2 separate regions of the Homo sapiens genome follow, and region 1 is linked to region 2. The links are contacts of gene promoters, found by promoter capture Hi-C in blood cells and fetal thymus (Javierre and others, 2016). All regions are on one chromosome and are shown on one strand. Each heading gives the region's core, a stretch centred on a gene start or on the middle of the fragment in contact. The rest is flanking DNA. Distances are from core to core; before and after follow the strand shown. Region 1 holds the start of DANT2 (DXZ4 associated non-coding transcript 2, distal). Region 2 holds the start of WDR44 (WD repeat domain 44).

Region 1 (5,937 bases), core at 2,149-4,648, 2.4 Mb before region 2:
TCTACACTGCTGGTGGGAATGTAAACTAGTACAGCCACTACGGAAAACAGTGTGGAGATTTCTTAAAGAACTAAAAGTAGAATTACCATTTGATCCAGCCATCCCACTACTGGGTATCTACCCAGAGGAAAAGAAGTCATTATTCAAAAATGATACTTGCACACACATGTTTATAGCAGCACAGTTCACAATTGCAAATTCGTGGAACCAACCCAAATGCCCATCAATCAACAAGTGGATAAAGAAACTGTGTTATATTTGATGGAATACTATGCAGCCATAAGAAGGAATTAATTAATAGCATTTGCAGTGACCTGGATGAGATTGGAGACTATTATTCCAAATGATGTAACTCAGAAATGGAAAACCAAACATCATGTTTTCACTGATATGAGGACACAAAGGCATAAGAATGATACAGTGGACTTTGGGGACTTGTGCAGAAGAGTGGGAGGGAGGCGAGGAATAAAAGACTACAAATATGGTGCAGTGGTATACTGCTTGGGTGATGGGTGTACCAAAAATCTCACAAATCACCACTAAAGAACTTACTATGTAACCAAATACTACCTGTGACCCCAATAACTTATGGAAAAAATTTCAAAAAATTTCAGTTGCCAATAAATAAACACTTAAAAAAATTGAAATCAATGAAAATGGAGACACAAAATAACCAACCTGCAGGGATACCTCCCAAACACTTTTGATTGAATGTGCCTATCATCCTGGTGGCCAAGAAGAAATCCCTGCACACTCTGCCTAGTGCTGAGCTGCATAAATCAGGAATCCAGGCACACAGAGTCATGGCTCAGAAAGGGCCAAAGACTGCCTGCGTGAGGTTTTCCAGATGCTGATGTGTTATGCAGCTGAACTGCCACAGTTCCTACATCTCCCATGAGCCTAGAAAATGGCAGACTCGAGCTCTTGCAAGGACCCCACTAGACAGCCTGGTGTCTGCCTTCACAGTCAGCGACCACGACCTGGCAGCTCTGGCTCTAGCATTGTGTTCCGTGTGTGTGTGTGTGTGTGTGTGTGCGCGCGCGCGGTGTGTGTGTGTCTGTCTGCCTGTCTCTGGCTCTAGAATTGTGTTCCGTCTGTGTGTCTGGCTCTAGCACTGTGTTTCTACTGTGTGTGTGTGTGTGTGTCTGGCTCTAGCATTGTGTTTCTACTGTGTTTGTGTGTGTGTGGCTCTAGCACGGTGATTCTACTGTGTGTGTGTGTGTGTGTGCGCGCGCGCGCACACACACACACACACATGCCTCACTGAATGCCAAGGGTCCCCTGAGCATCCTTTCCTGTAGAGCCAGGTCTCAGAATGTGTAACAGTGCCTGTTCAATTCCCCTTACCCCAACAGAAATAGACTTTAAGAGTCCACAGAAAAAGACATACAAGGATCTTAAAATATACAAAAATATCTTTTAGCGACTCATAAGAAGGGAAATCAAAACAAAAACTACACTGTTGTATAATTTTTCACATATTATCAATTTCCAACCATGACCTGTCCCCCTCTGAGGAACCTGTACTACCTACTATTTCCTGACCCATCTTGGTTCTGGCTCCTCTCAAGTGTTCTCAAGTAATCACACTATTTTCTTGCTAGAATTTGTCCTACACATGCAGATAGCCAAATGCCATCTCACAAGGAATGTAAAACCACATGTTCTGGTGCAATTGCTTTGTTTTCTTTACCGTTAAAATGGTTATAATCCCACTTAAAACACAGTGCAATTCACTATGCGAAATGACCTCTCATGCAATCAAATCTCCATAGAACTTTGGTCAGTTTTTCTAATTTTGGAAATAAGGCCAAACTTTTGCCTTAGTATCAATAACAAGAAACACAAAGCACAACAAGAGCGAACACACAAACACTCTTAACATCTTCATCTAGAAATAACCAGTATAACTGTGACAATTGTGTCTTCTTTCCTTTTGGACTTTTTTTGTCTACATATAATTTGTTGAGCTTATATTTTGTATTATTACCACTATCTTTTGTAATTTTTGATACTTATTTAAGAAGCTTCATTCTTTCTTTTTCTTAATAATCATGGCCGTTTCAGATCCTCCCATTTCACAGAACTGAAAAAAGATGAAAATGTGAGCGAGCCCCTGAAAATCTGGGGGGGGGGGTCTCTTTCCATGTCTTTAAATGCGTACGTAGAAAGGGAGCTGTATTGCTTTTAGGCCAAAATTTCATCCGAGGAAATGTACCCTCTTTAGGGGTACATTCAAGGGAGCCCAGCACTTGTGAGCACGCACGGCGGCCATGAGGTTTAACCACCACTCAGTCCAAACCCACAGAGCACGCGCACCCTCCTCCAGCCACGTAGGTGGGGAGAACTCGAGTGGGTGAAGGAATCCGTGTGCGCACCCTTCTCCTCCTGTTCGCCCCGCCCTTTGGCCACACAGAAACGCTTCCAGGCCAACCGACGAGGAAGGCTAGAGGGACTCTGCTAGGAGGCTCTCCCTACACTTGCCAGAACTGAAAACGTAGGCAGGGGTTAAAAACTCAGTGCTCCAAAAACGCAAGACCCCGACCCGCCCACATGGCCCCGACTCGGCCCTCGGGGACTCCCAGATAACTGCCTGACGCCCGAGCCGGTGGTGCGGCAGCCACCATTGCGCAAGTTCGAGCGCCCGGCTCTGGCTGCTCACATGATGGAGGATGGGGAAGGTCCTCTGCACCAGAAAGGCCGCCTATGGCACAGAACCCCTGCCCTACTTCCCCCAGCGTCAGGGAAAGGAAAGGCAAAGAAAGGAAAGACGAAGGAAGGAGACCTACCTAGCTGAGGCTGCGCGCCAGCGGGAAAGGTCCGACTACCTCTGATCTGCGTTCTGGGGACGGCTGGACCCCAATGCGCCCCCTGCGGCAACGCGACTCCCGCGTTGCCACAGGGTAGGCTGCCATCCCTCCCTCCATCTTCTGTGTCTCCTGTTCCCCAGAGGGGGTGGAAGCTGAAGGTCAGAGGAAGGGGAGGTGTTGGGAATCCGGGTTGTGTGGTGTCGGCTCCGCCCAGGGGAGGAGTGGGACATCTTAAGCCAGTCGTAGGTGCTTAAAGGGCCGGGAGAGGTGGGCTACGGAAAGTCAGGTGGGAAATCTTTCATCTTGGCCAGTTGCTCGGTAGAATCTATTTCTTTCCCTTAGAATAAGGTACTTGTTGCTAGGGGGCAAACGATGATTGAGTCAGAACAATACAATGGAATATCTATAGTTCAATATTCGCAAAACATTTAGACGTAAAAGAAATTTAAATATGCATATTTTCAACCGATAAGTTTGTATCATTACATTGACTGAGGTTACTAAAAGCCTCAATTGCTCCCTCCCCAGGTGAGAGGTAATGAGTAAGAGAAAAGGTCTGGGAGTATCTGGCCAGCAGGTAGTCTTGGGGTAGGGGCATGGGGCTGAGAGTGTGGGGTCAGTTGGTGGGGAGTGAAATGTGTGGTTCCCAAGACCAGACACTGCCGGTGCCCTATCACTCCCTGATTTTTGTCTGGAACTGTTAGGGGCCCAGTGCTGCTTCTGCGGCCATTCCAGGGGATGCTGCTGTTTGGCGCACACGCTGCCTAGGTGGGTGATGAAATGCTACGTCCGAAAGAGTGACAGCGACTCGAAGGTTTCCCCTGTCTGACCAGTGCCCTGATATCTTCTTTCTTTTGAAAAAAAAAAAAAAAGGAACACTTTTGTCTTGCAAAATAATATTCGCAGAATGAAGACACCTGTAGTGCATAAAGAAAAACGAAGATAACCCGTGATGACACCACTCAGAGGACTGTTAAATTGGGGCGTACATCCTTCTAGCACCTGATTTCTTAAGTTGGAGGGAGAGATGCAAATAAAGATCCTTTTAAAATAATAGTCTGGTGAGCTCCCAAGACCCATGGGAAGCATGCACGCTATTCAGTTGCCAACCTATTGATTGCGAAGATATTTTTGTGGACCCATTTAATTTTCTATTCATAATATAGTATTTGATGGACTTTTACTATTATTTTTTGTTTCACAAACCCAATGTTTTAGGACCTGATGGACTTTTACAAAAATTTTTCTGAAGAAAAATTTTAAGGAATGTTTTCCCTACAAATAAGTGTTTCAAGTGAGAACCAAAGTCACCGCTGCCCAGGTCCACTCCCCAGTACACCCACCTTAAAAGAAACACTTTAAAAAGAAATCCAAGGCCTCTACACCAACCTGAGGAGGGTACAACTGCACTTTTACCGCCTCCAACTCCTTAGAATTTTCTGCCTCCATTTCACTCCCCACCAACTGACCTTCACTCTCTCAGTCCCCCATCCCCACCCCACCCCAAGACCACCTGCTGGCCAGATACTCCCAAACCTCTTCTCTTACTCATTCCCTTGCTGTTTGGGCAGAGGTGGGTGGGAATTACCAGGAGGTAGGGGAAAGAGAATAAATGGGCATAGGTAATACTTTGTTCTGGTCAGACAGATGCCTTCACCGGCTTAGGGGAGAGTTGAGGGAGGGGTTAAGACTCTGCCACAATTCCACGTTGTAGAAAATGGAAAGTGGAAAGAGCTTCCCTCTGGTTCCCAGGTGGAATTAGCCGAGAAAGAATTGGGCTATGAATCTCAGCTGCACCTCTCTGGATGCCTCCCTGTTTTTCTCCTCCTTTATTTAATGTAGGAATGGCCATTGCCTGACACAGAATCAAGTCACAGCCTTTTTTCTGTCTGCATTACCTGAACCGACACAGATTCAATAAACACTCATTGTGCCAGGAAACCAAGGTCCACAGAGGCTAAAGCTTTGCCAAGGTGAACCGGAGTGTCACAGGATGAATCCAAACATGCTAGGCTGCAACTCCTTTGCGCTCTTCATGCAAATGGGCAAGCAGCTCCATAAAGGATGCTCAACATCATTCATTTAGGCAAATACAAAGCAAAATCACGAGGAGATACACTTCACACTTACTAGGATGGGTAGAATAAAAACAAAATTGAAAATAACAAGTGTGATGAAGATGTAGAGAAATTGAAACTGTCATACATTGCCGGTGGGAAAGTAAAACGATGTAGATATTATGGAAAGGAGTTTGGCACTTCCACAAAAAGTTAAACGTATAATTACCACGTGGTCCAGGAATTCCACTCCTAAGTATATATCCAAGATAACTGAAAAGATATTTGAACAAAAGTTATGCATGAATATTTGTGGCAGCATAATTCATAAAACCCAAAGGAGAAACAACCTAAATGCCCATGAACTGGTGAGTGTTTAAACAAATATGCTATATCCATACCATGGCTTATTATTTAGCCATAACATGGAATGAAGCACAGATACATGATACCACATGGATTTAACCTGGAAACTATTATAATACATTAAGAAACCAGACAAAAATGCATATTGCATGATTCCATTTATATAAAATGGCCAGAATAGGCAAATCTATACAGAGACATAGTGGATTAGTAGTTGCCAGGGGCTGGGGAAGGCTGAATAAGAAATGACTGCTAATAGAAATGGAGCTTTCATTTTAGAAAAATTTTCTAAAATTTGTTGTAATGGATACACAATTTTGTGAATGTACTAAAAAGCAATGACTTGTATACTTTTAAATGGTGAATTACATGGTATGTGAATTGTATGTCAATAATAAAATGTAAACCAGCACTTAGATTTAATAAAATTTAGGTACAAGATTTGTGGGAAATTTTATATCATGGGTGAATCAAGGTGAGAATGCTGTAACTCACTGATATGATATTTTCCATCAAATATATGAGAAACATATTATGTGAATGCTGATATCATGCAATCAGAGTACAAAGCATCAACTATGAATGTTCCTGCCAAAAAAATTGTACCTGAATCTAACCACATCCATAGATATTACTACAAGATATTCTGCTTATAAAGGAATAGGTTTTGCATTAGGATGGATACGGTAAAATGTAAAAAATGA
Region 2 (5,592 bases), core at 1,514-4,013:
AAAAAAAAAAAAACAAAAAAAAGTGACGATGGGCAGTATTTATATGTGTTTTAACGTTTCCAGCAATTCATTCTAGCAATTGGCTTTCTCATGCAATTGATAAAAGCATTTAAACGGAAACTTTAAAAGCTCTAAAAATGTTACCAGTTTATCATTCCTATCCATTTTACCTTTTTCTAAGTATAATGTTTAAGGCAGCTTAAAAGGTCCAAGAGAGCTGATATGGTATATTGAAAAAAAACAGAGCACCAAACTAGGACTCCGTATTTGTCTCCACTGCTAGATTATTAGCTTTTTGTAGGCAGAAACTTAAGTTGTCTTTTTCTGTTTTGTTTTTGTTGTTGTTGTTGTTGTTGTTTTTGAGACAGAGTCTCCCTCTGTCGCCCAGGCTGGAATGCAGCGGCGGGATCTCAGCTCACTGCAACCTCCGCCTCCCAGGTTCAAGCAATTCTCCTACCTCAGCCTCCCGAGTAGCTGGGACAACAGGCAAGTGCCACCACGCCCCCCTAACTTTTGTATTTTTAGTAGAGACAGGATTTTGCCATGTTGGCCAGACTGGTCTCGAACTCCTGACCTCAAGTGATCTGCGCACCTCGGCCTTCCAAAGTGTTAGGATTACAGGTGTGAGCCACCGCGCCGGATCTAGTTGTCTTTTTAATCTGTCAATTGTCCTCAGCATCTAGAACGCTTCATGACACCAAATTGTATATGTTTACTGAACTGAGCGACTGGTTTCCACACACGGCATTTTGTTTTTGTTGTTGCTGTTGTTTTTTGTGTGTGTGTGTGAGAGACAGGGTGTGGCTCTGCTGCCCAGTCTGGAGTGTAGTGGTGCTATCTCAGCTCACTGTAGCCTCAACCTCCTGGGCTCAAGCGATTCTCCCACCTCAGCCTCCACAGTAGTTGAGACCATAGGCACATGCCACCACACCCAGTTAAATTTTGAATTTTTTGTAGAGACAGGGTTTCACCATGTTGCCCAGGCTGGTCTGAAACTCTTGAGCTCAAGAAATCCGCCTGCCTCGGCCTCCCAAAGTGCAGGGATTACGGGCGTGAGCCACCGCGCCTGGAACTAACACCTCTATCATATAGAGAAAACTAACTTTTTTTTCTTTGGAAGCCATAAATTCACTATTAGATATCTAGGAAGAGAATACATTCAGGTAGTTAACATCTTTCCATAAATATATATTTCCCTACCTTATATCTGGTATCTTTCCATAATCCAAAAAGAAAACAAAAAAACCTATCTTAGTGAGCAAAACGTTTTTAAAAGTTAGTACTTTGAGTTACATTTTTATACCTAGGAAGTTAATTAACATGTTTAAGACACATAAAACCTAATAATTTTTAGGTTTGACAAAAGTCATACCCTCACAAGGATCCACAAATCCCTTGTCTCCAATTCTGAAACTTCAAAAGCTCTGGAAACCAAGTTTCTGTTTTTTTTTTTTTTTAGTAATTTATTTGACAGTCAAATAGATCTATCTTAAACTTATTTGGCAGAAGCGTCTGACTCAAACTGAATGAGGCTATTTACTTGTATTTATTTATCCCGTATGAACAATCATATATCTTGCTGCAAAAATATTAATATATTTGATTACGCAGTGTTTTCCCTAAACTCCCTGGGGTATTATAGAATATACAGTATATGACATTTGGTTTTTACCCAAGTCCACTAGACCACAGCAGACCTTGCCCTGATTGCTTGACAAAGTCTAGAGCCCCTTTCCAGTTTCTCTGAGACCATACCCCTGGCTCCAATCCAGCCTTTTCTTGAATACTAATTGAGGCTGCACGAACAGCTCAAAATGCCTATCATGATGTCAGTTGGAGAAATAAATATGCTGTGTGATCATACTGAAAGTCAATGTTATCACCTTGATGGTCAATGACCCGTGGTTTAAGAAGGAACATCTCGGTTTTTTAAAAAGTACCTTTCTATTTTTATCACCGGACGCTGGGCAGTTGAGGATCAGAATTAAGCCATTAGCTCGTAGGCTTGCAATGATATCTGCTCAATAAATATTTACCATTTAGCTGACGCACATCTTGGGCAGTATGTAAGAACTTCTCTCACACTGTGTTGGCAGCGACAGACATGTGCGGAGAAAAAGTAACCGGAGGCCTAATACTGGCTCAGCTCCAGCAATAAATCCATCATTACACCATGGAACTGGCACACTCCCCGTGTATATCTCAAGGACCCCACCCTCTGGCCGGCAGGATCATATCTAGGGATCTCAATTAGAGATCTCGTAGTGAATAAGGGCGAGTTATTCTCGTAACGCCAGAGGTGGTGGACCTGCCGACGCCCTAGGGTGGGACATTCCGGGCTTGGATAGTAAGACATCGTAAATATACGCCAAAATGTCCACACCAACGTTTCCCGAGAGTATTTCTTTACAAGTAAAAGACCGACTCAAAATCACCCCTCTCAAAACGCGTCTCTTTGGAACTGCAGAGTTAGGGAGTAAGACTTTCTGCCTGACCCCACCTACGTCGGCCGCGCGCTCTCAGAGCCAGGGCACCACGCTGCTCCTGCGCAGGTCCTAGACTCCTCCCTTCGGGAGGCTCACCCCCTCCCTTCTCGGCTACTTCCGGCCCTCACCGAACGCCCTCAACGCGCTTGCGCCGTTTTGATAGGCTTCTCGGGCCGAAGTAATCGGAGCGCTGCCTCTCTGGAACCGCCCCCGCCACCTCTTCGCCCCGCCCACGTATTACCGCCCCTCCGAAATCTCGCGAGGGTAGGTGCGCGTCGGTATTTTGCGGGCAACTAGCTCTTCCAGCTGCTGTAAATTGCTGCTGCGGGAGAAACTGGAGCCGCTGTAGCCGGCGCGCCCTTCTTCCCTTACTGCGAGGAGCCACCGCCTCTTTCGCGCTCCTTATACACCTATCACTGGGAGCGGTGGCAGCAACATTCCCTGGACCAACCGCCGCCTCTTCAGGCGGCCGCTTTGCCGGTCATTCCCGAAGCCCGGCAACTGAGGGCGGCCCCCTTTCCTTAACAGTCTCCTCGCTACAGATCGTCTGCTCCCTCAGCCTCGCCCGAGACCCACTTCCCCAGTCTCGCCCGGGTGGAGGTCGACGAGGAGGAGACAAGAGTCACCCTTCCTCCAGGCGGCGCCGGCCCCCTCACCCGCGGGTGTGTCCTATAAATGGCGTCGGAAAGCGACACCGAGGAATTCTATGATGCCCCTGAAGATGTGCACCTAGGGGGCGGCTACCCCGTGGGGTAAGTGACTGCAGCTATGACAGGAAGCCGGGCATCCCAAGCCCCCCGCATCTCCTGTGTCTTCCCCCTACACCCCTCCCAGGTCCCGCTGTGTCCGCCACCGCTGTTCCTCCCCGTCTCACTGGAGGACTTCAGAACCCAGACCTGGGGCTTCTTAGGGCGGGGTGACTCGGAGAAGGGGGAGTCAGCCACCTCGGGCAGCCTCCCGGCCGTTTCCCTACTGAACGGTCCCAGGGTCGGTCTCGGAGCCCGTTTCTCTTCTGATCCAGCCTTCTGTGAGGGGGAACAGCTTACGTGCCTGAGTCGGAGATTTGTATCTGTGGGGTTCTGAGCTTACCTTTCAAACATCCGTTTTGGCCTCGGGGACCGTAGATTAAAGGAGCAGTAACAGGAGAAATGTAACTTGTAGTTTTTTATTCTCCCGTTTACCGCTAACTTACCTATTCACTTCAGAGGTGGCTGTAACTCTCCCCTATTTGCCGTCCTCTTTTTCTTGCACACAGCGAAAAGGAGCGGGGGGAAGGTTGGGTATTTGCTTAAGAAAGTCCTCTAGCGAATGTACTCTAGATCAACAGTGTTTTATTAAAATAACACCTTATCGTGAGGTAAAGGAAATCGAATACACGGTCCCTATTAGGCAGAATGCGGTCTAAAAGGATGGCCAGACAGAAGAAATGTGCACAACTGACTGCAGAGGGACAAACAAGTGCTGAGTAATCTGGTGATTGGAAGGAGAGCCCCAGCTTTGTGTTCTTTATCTAATTCTGCAAGATGTTTTAGTGGTGATTAATATGGGTGATTCTGAATAGGAAGTACAGTAGTTGGAATGCTCGCTTGACTAGGACTTGTATTTACTTACCCACTTCTCCACTTTTCAAAGTTGGGGTAGTGCTTTAAAGCGATTTCGCCGAACTCCCCTACGAATGTACGTGGAAATAGAGGCAGTGAAATATATTTTCATGCTGTAAGAACTTGAGGATTGGTAAAATGTAGATGTTAGTATAAAGGACTAATATGGTTCGAGAAGTTCACTGCCTTCAATTCTCACACTTACTCCGTGGGAGTAATAACCCGCTGTGATGCAAGTATAGTTAGCCATGCATGCTAGAAGTCATTCTAAAAACTAATGTATGTTTATACACAATATGCACCAAAAAGTTACAGTAATAAAATCAGAAAGCAATGTACGTTGGTAGATTTCAGATGTTTGTCTTTCCACCAACCTTCATGTCACTGTTGTGGGATTTTGGGGTGGCAGTGGCCAATCTTGAGATGACACCGAATCTCCTTCAAGTTCAATATCTGAGACAAGTTTAGAGCTAGGTGTAGAGCATAGGAAATACATTTGGGTTTTGAAATGTATTGGACTTCCGTGAAACTTAATTTTTGTGTGTGTGGTTTTCCCTTCAAAGTAATGAACTGACAATTCAGATTGAATGAGACACCAAGTCCTTTGGTACTTTTGTGTGTGTGTATTGGGGTGGGGGAGGGAAATCATCAGTTTATGAGCTGATCAGTTTAGAACTACTCTGTGGATATTGTTCTTTCCACTGAATAAGTTTAATTTCAAAGGACGCAAGTTATATCAGGACCTGTGTAAACTGTCTAGTCCAGTACCTGGGCACAGAGAAAGCATTCAAAATGTTCATGCTTTTCTCCTTCCTTTCTTGGCATTGGCAAATTTGTTAACTTTACACAAAGCTTATTTTGGGAGATATATAGAACTTGGACCTATTTTACTTATCTAAACCGGATGAGTCATTTTGATAGAATTGATAGAGTCACTTCTTCCCTCATGAGATAATACAGCTTCTCAAGCACTTTGATCCTCTGATATTAGGTGAAAACTGAAAAAGGTTTTTTTGGAACTCAGCTTTCTAATTTTAACTTTAACCTGCCCAATTACTAAGTGTGTTGAGTTCTATGGATAAAACTACAGGGTCAGTTTGTGGATTTCAGGGCTCCTTTCTGTATTAGAGGATTGGAAAGACAATAGACTAATCTGGAGAATTGCATCTGAAAAGAACTGGCAGCACTGAGGGCAGAAAAAGGTTAGCATCATTTACATTTTCCTCTATCCTTTGTGGAAGGTTGTATCATTTGCATAAGACACCGTGAGGAGATCTGGGTGGGCAACTTATAACCTAGAAATGTAGTGAGAAATCTTGATTTGTGGAAACAGATTGCCTTACTAGATATTGGTCATCAGAAATATGTTCTGTTCCTTCATATGATCTGGAGTGGCAAACTATACAATTTCTAAGGTTAATAGACTGAATTTGGGCACTTCAGAAATGTTCCTTGCTGTTGTGTGTTTGGGAGTACACAGACTATGTCAACAAATTGTAGTAAAC

The links. The method cuts DNA at HindIII sites, captures the fragments that hold promoters and counts their contacts. A CHiCAGO score of 5 or more calls a contact.
Region 1: a contact is called between a fragment that was not itself captured here and the fragment with the promoter of WDR44 in region 2, in 1 of 17 cell types (M2 macrophages). The highest score is 6.4, in M2 macrophages.

Annotation. Positions count from the first base shown.
Region 1 is chrX:115,966,172-115,972,108 of GRCh38, forward strand. It overlaps DANT2 (DXZ4 associated non-coding transcript 2, distal), which reads right to left and starts at 2,940. Exons shown (of 2, transcript NR_132337.1): 1 at 2,790-2,940. RefSeq lists enhancers at 452-1,029, 1,030-1,606. The HindIII fragment of the contact is 2,746 bases long and covers 2,026-4,771 here.
Region 2 is chrX:118,343,343-118,348,934 of GRCh38, forward strand. It overlaps WDR44 (WD repeat domain 44), which reads left to right and starts at 2,764. Exons shown (of 20, transcript NM_019045.5): 1 at 2,764-3,238. The coding sequence starts at 3,162. RefSeq lists enhancers at 1,995-2,114, 2,305-2,354, 2,896-3,439, 4,935-5,529. The HindIII fragment of the contact is 5,332 bases long and covers 1-4,937 here.